Regions from separate parts of the Homo sapiens genome. Here region 2 is linked to region 1. The links are contacts of gene promoters, found by promoter capture Hi-C in human tissues and cell types (Jung and others, 2019). All regions are on one chromosome and are shown on one strand. The core of a region is centred on a gene start or on the middle of the fragment in contact, and the rest is flanking DNA. Distances in the headings are between cores, read along the strand shown.

The links. Contacts are between HindIII fragments. The study calls those that stand out against the background at their distance.
Region 2: a contact is called between a fragment that was not itself captured here and the fragment with the promoter of GDPD3 in region 1, in 1 of the 25 tissues and cell types used here (lymphoblastoid cells).

The regions. Positions count from the first base shown.
Region 1 is chr16:30,111,906-30,114,990 of GRCh38, forward strand. It overlaps GDPD3 (glycerophosphodiester phosphodiesterase domain containing 3), which reads right to left and starts at 1,632. Exons shown (of 10, transcript NM_024307.3): 1 at 1,435-1,632; 2 at 1,117-1,159; 3 at 753-888; 4 at 618-663; 5 at 401-519; 6 at 227-316. The coding sequence starts at 1,573. MAPK3 (mitogen-activated protein kinase 3) reads right to left here. Exons shown (of 9, transcript NM_002746.3): 9 at 2,200-2,803. RefSeq lists a silencer at 1,603-1,897. The HindIII fragment of the contact is 6,526 bases long and covers 1-3,085 here.
Region 2 is chr16:30,634,645-30,637,729 of GRCh38, forward strand. No RefSeq gene overlaps it. Among named protein-coding and RNA genes, the nearest start is that of PRR14, 15 kb to the right of the region's middle. RefSeq lists an enhancer at 1-724. The HindIII fragment of the contact is 7,557 bases long and covers 1-3,085 here.

The DNA of each region.
Region 1 (3,085 bases), core at 382-2,881:
CTGGGCGACAGAGAGAGACTGTGTTTCAAAAAAGAAAAAAAACAAAAGTCACATCTTGGCTCTGTGTTCGAGGCCTGAGTTCACACCCTTTTCATTGCCACCGCCACGCCACTGGGAACTCTCCCAGACCCCTCTAGCTCGGGTCCCCATGCTGGGTGGGCTCCAGCTCTGGGGAGGAGGGGCCCCTGGAGGAGGAAGAGGACGGGGGAGGGGTGGGGGGACTCACGGCAGCCTTGCATTTCTTCATGACCGAGCTCTTCTCCGAGGCCCAGATGGTGATTTCATTACGGTCATAGCGTCTCACCAAGCCTGCTATCTGGGAGGAGGAGAAGGAGGTGAAGGGAGAGCCAGGCCTCTCTCACGCCCCCGGTGGCCGCCCTAGCCCTGCCTGCAGCACCACCTCACGGATGAGCTCTTCGTTCTTCCCTTTGATCTCTACGCTCATGGGTGTCCTTGGAAACCTCTGGAACAGGTCCTCCAGACGAACCATGCGCCGGTCTGACCCGTGAGCAAAGTGGCCTGGGGGTGGTGTGGGAAAAGGGGTCAGAGGGAAGCCAAGGCGGAGGTCCAAGGAAGGCAGGCATGGCCCAGGCAGGGCTCGAAGCCCTTGCTCTCACCTGGAGAGAAGTAAACCTCCAGCTTCTCCTTGTAGAGGGGCAGGTCCTGGGGAGGACAGGAAGGATGTCACTAGAGGCCCGCATTGGGCATGGTGACTCTCAGGGTGGGGGTTGGGGTGTCAGGGCAGGGCCCACCTCGAAGTCCAGGCTGCCCACATCCCTGTTTAGGCCCGACTGGCGGCACAGGTTCTCATCATGTGACACCACCACCACTCTGTCCCGTGTCAGCTGACAGTCGAGCTCCAGGAGGTCCGAGCGCTGGGCCATGGAGCTGTGGGGGTGAAGGTCAGCGGGGGGCAGGGGCAGGGGACTGGGATGAGGGGCATGGTGGCTGGGAGGTGGCCGGGAATGTGAGAGCGGAGTTCGTGGCGGGATGTGCAGGCCACCTCCAGGGGGCGCCAGTCACCCAGCTAGGAAGTGAATGGCGTCCCTTGCTGTGATGCAGTCCACGACCTGCACACCCTCACATGGCAGCCTGGGCAGGGGCAGATACACTCACTTCTCCATGGCCTCCATGGTGTTCTCCAGCAGCTCTCCAGATCCTGTGGGGGGCACTGGAGTGGGCCTCTGGGGCTTGGGGTCTAGGGGCCTGGCCCAACCTCATCACCCACATTCCCTCTCTGGGCTCCATCCTCCCTCTGGCCTCACCTCCCCAGCCAGCCCAGGCTGCGCCAGCATCTTCTTCCTCGTCCACACCCTGCCCTGCCACTTCGCTCTCCTTCTCTCTTGGTCCCTGCCCCGTTTCTAGCATGCCCCCTTGGACCTACCCCTCTGTGCTGTCCACTTTGGCACCTGTTCTCACCCCTACCCGGCTCACCTCCTCGGTGGGCCCCCAGGCGGATGCGGAAGGTGGGAGCCCTGGGCGTGTGCAGCAGATGAGGCCGGCGCAGGAAGAAGATGGAGAGCATGGCATAGCTGCCCAGGGCAGGGAGGGCATAGTACAGCAAAAGGCTCATGACCGTACTCCCACAGAAGCTCCTGCAGCCACACGCTCAGCCGTCCGCGGGACTGTGCTGCCTGCCTAGCCAGTGTGGGCCGGCTCTACTACTGGCCACTGCCACGCCCCTGGGACCTGCTGAGCCTGCCGCTGGGCTGGCTTGGAGCCAGGCTGCAGGGTTCGGCTGAAGCTGGGGTAGTGTCAGGAGGTGAGGCAAGTAGCCCTGGCTCTCATATCCCCAGGCCCTTCCCAGCCCCCAGCAGCCCCGTCCTGGGCTACATGAGGGGAGTAAAAACCACCCAGGACTGTCAGGACCTCTCCCTCTCACTGGTACTTGTAGCCAGCGCATCCAACATGCCTACCCCTTGCCATTTCAGAGGATCCAGGGGTGTGTAGGGTGCTCCTGAGTCACCCCGAATCACCCCCAGCCAGTTAGACAGGAAGCCATTAGCGAGAGGACAGGACAGTGACTAAGGGGAAAACTGACCCCCTTCTTTCTAGGAGTCTGGAGCTCTCCAGAGCCCCGTCCCCAGCCCTGGGCAGCTGGGAGTGAAGGGCACCAGGCCCCTGAAAGCCCAAGTCAAGTCTGTCCTCAGAGCCGCACGGGGCAGGGCGGGGGCGTCGCGAACACAGACAGAGCCAGGGTCAGCCATAGACACATCTCTATATTTATATATTAGACGGGTCAGGGAGGTGGCAGGGGCGCCGGGCTCTCCACGCCCCCCAGCTCCACTTCTGCTCACCACACACAGAAGCAGCGAGGGCACGCGAAGTGACAGCTTTGACAGGGAGGGGATTCGGCCCGGCCTGGCTCCTCAGGGATGCTAGCCCTTGAGACTAAGGAATGTTCCTTCAGGGAAACTAGGGTGGGGTTTGAATGAGATGAGGGGGGCAGGCATGGCCCTGAGTCCCTACTCAGCGCCCCCCACCCTCCACCTCTGCCCTTCAGCAGGTTGGGGCAGCCAGAACCCTTCCATTCCAGAACTGCCAGAGACTGGGACGCTGGGGAAGGTAAGGGCGCAGCAGCAGCAGCGGGAGATTGAACTGGGGCCACCTGAGGTCCCGAGGCCCCGTGGGGAGGGCGGGTGGGGAGGAGAAGGCCTTGGCCTGCCTGAAGCTGGAGGCCTCAGCAAAGGAGAGAGGTGGCCAGGCCCATGCTCCACCCCGGCCTGGGCTGCCAAGGTCCGGGCTGGGCACAGTGTCCATTTTCTAACAGTCTGGCGGGAGAGGGGCAGGCAGGAGGCAGGTCCTAAAGAGAGAAGCAGGCAGAAGAGGAGTCGTTAGCACCCCCCGGGCAGACCCACTGGAGCCCTGACCTCAACATCTCTCATTTCACCCTCACAGCTGGATAGGCTGGGTCTCAGTTTCCTTATCTGTAAATGGAGATAATAATAGTACCTAGCTTGAGGTACTGCTGTAAGATTAAAGGAATTAATACATGTAAACCTCTTAGAACAATGCTTAGGGCTTTATGCTTTCATTATTAGAACTGTCTCGGCCGGGCACAGTGGCTCACGCCTATAATCCCAGC
Region 2 (3,085 bases), core at 328-2,827, 520 kb after region 1:
TAGGTCAACGGTGCGGTGGCAGAACCCTGGGGCTCTCCCCCGCGGAACTCGGCCCTGGCCGAGGCCCCAACCACGCTAGTAGGAGGAGGCCGAGCATCCCTCCTCGAAATCGCGAAATCCCGGCCCGACAATGTAGCCACGGAGTCGAAAGCCGCGTGCGAACTTGGCACTCACAAAGCCTAGATAACCGTCTATTTTCTCCTGTAAAATAGGAGGGATGGACCCCCACAGATCATTGTAAAAGGTTCTTACAAAGAAAAATCCTCCTGGACTGGGCACGGTGGCTCACGCCTGTAATCCCAGCACTTTGAGCGGATCACACTTCGAGACCAACCTGACCAACATGGAGAAACCCCGTCTCTACTAAATTAGCCGGGCGTAGTGGCGCATGCCTGTAATCCCAGCTACTCTGGAGGCTGAGGCAGGAGAATCGCTTTAACCCGGGAGGCAGAGGTTGTGGTGAGCCGAGATCGCGCCATTGCACTCCAGCCTGGGCAACAAGAGCGGAATTCTGTCTCAAAAAAAAAAAAGAGAGAAAAGAAAAATCCTGGAAGTCAAGTAAAAATGTGTGAAGGTGTTTTATAAAATATGAAATATCTAGAATACACAAATCTATAGAAGGACTCGGGGAAAGGGGAGTGAATGCTAATAAATACAGAGGTTCTTTCTGGGGTGATGAAAATGTACTAGTACTGATTGTGGCCGCGCTAGCACAAAAATCCGTTTCATTGGCCAGACGCTATGGCCCAGGGAAAAAAAGAAGGACTAGGGGGAATGGGGAGTGAATGCTAATGAATATGCAGTTTCTTTTTGTGGTCATGAAAGTGCACTAAAATTTTCATGCTAGCACAAAAATTGAATTGTACACTTCAAATAGGTGTATTTGTGATGTGCATTCTAGCTCCATAAAACTCAAAATGTGTGAAAATTCTTTGTAACTTTACTAAAAATTGGGGGCACTCTATAGTTTACAAAACTATCCCCATCCAGGCAGGGCACGGTGGTTCACACCTGTAATCCCAGCACTCTGGGAGTCTGAGGCGGGCGGATCACCTGAGGTGAGGAGTTCAAGACCAGCCCGACCAACATTGTGAAACCCCGTCTCTACTAAAAATACAAAATTAGCCGGGCGTGGTGACGCATGCCTGTAATCCCACTTACTCGGGAGGCTGAGGCAGGAGAATCGCTTGAACCCGGGAGGCAGAGGTTGCAGTGAGCTGAGATCGCACCATTATACTCCAGCCTGGGCAACAAGAACAAAACTCCGACTCAAAAAAAAAAAAATTCTCCATCTAGTCCTCTGAGGTGAGCAGCATTTTGTTTGTTTGTTTGTTTTGTTTGTTTTGAGATGGAGTCTCGCTCTTGTTGCCTAGGCTGGAGTGCAATGATGCGATCTCAGCTCACTACAACCTCTGCCTCCCAGGTTCAAGCGATTCTCCTGCTTCAGCTTCCCGTGTAGCTGGGATTACAGGTGCGCACTACCATGCTTGGCTAATTTTTGTATTTTTAGTAGAGACAGGGTTTCACCATGTTGGCCGGGCTAGTCTCGAATTCCTGACTTCAGGTGATCCACCCACCTCAGCCTCCCAAAGTGCTGGGAGTACAAGTGTGAGCCACCGAGCCCTGCTTATTTATTTATTTATTTATTTAGAGACAGAGTCTCTGTCATCCAGGCTAGAGTGCAGTGGCACTATTTCAGCTTACTACAGCCTCCGCCTCCCAGAGCTAAAGCAATTCTCCTGCCTCAGCCTCCTGAGTAGCTGGGATTACAGGCATGTGCCACCACACCCGGCTAATTTTTGTATTTTTAGCAGGTGGCGTTTCGCCATGTTGGCCAGGCTGGTGGTGGCACAATTGGAGGGCAGAAGGGACAGTAAAAGATGCCCTAGAAGCTCAGAAGAAGGAAAGACCTCAGAAGGCTTCGACGCATGGGTGGGGCTGCTGTTGCAGCTGGACCTTCAAGGATGATAGAATCTAAACAAATGCAGTAGTAATGAAAGAGGTAAAAGATGGGAAACCATGGAAAATATACAGAGGTAATAATTAGATGAAGCCCCCACGTGGTGACTTGTGCCTGAAATCACAAGTGTGCCCAGAAACGGGGCCTCACTGTGTTGTCCAGTCTGGTCTCGAACTCCTGTTTCAAGCAATCTTCATGCCTCAGCCTCCTAAAGTGCTGGGATTACAGGAGTGAGCCACTGCATCCGGCCACCCTTCATTTTAAAAGTACATTTCTGGCCAGGTGCGGTGGCTTATGCCTGTAATCCCAGCACGTTGGGAGTCCAAGGCGGGCCAATCACTTGAGGTCAGGACTTCAAGACCAGCTTGGCCAACATGATGAAACCCCATCTGTACTAAAAATACAAAAATTAGCTGGGTGTGGTTGTGTGAACCTGTAATTCCAGCTGCTCAGGCGGCTGAGGCACGAGAATAGCTTGAACCCAGGAGACAGAGGTTGCAGCAAGCTGAGATCGCACCACTGCACTCCAGCCTGGGTGATAGAGTGAGACTCAGTCTCAAAAAAAAAAAAAAAAAAACCACATTTCTGCCCAGGCGCATTGGCTCATGTCCATAATCCAGCGCTTTGGGAGGCTAAGGTGGGTAGATCACCTGAGGTCAGGAGTTGGAGACCAGCCTAGCCAAAATGGTGAAACCCCTTCTCTACTAAATACAAAAAATTAGCTGGGCGTGGTGGCAGGTGCCTGTAATCCCAGCTACTCAGGAGGCTGAGGCAGGAGAATCGCTTAAACTGGGAAGGCGGAAGTTGCAGTGAGCTGAGATCGTGCCATTGCACTCCAGCCTGGACAACAGCGAAACTCTAAAAAAAAAAAAAAAAAATTAGCCGGGCGTGGTGGCATCCGCCTGTAATCCCAGCTACTCAGGAGGCTGAGGCAGGAGAATCACTTGAACCCAGGAGGTAGAGCTTGCAGTGAGCCAAGATCGCACCATTGCACTCCAGCCTGGGCAACAAGAGTGAAACTCCATCGCAAAAAAACATAATAGTAAGGCCGGGCGCGGTGGCTCAAGCCTGTAATCCCAGCACTTTGGGAGGCCGAGGCGGGCAGATCACAAGGTCAGGAGATCA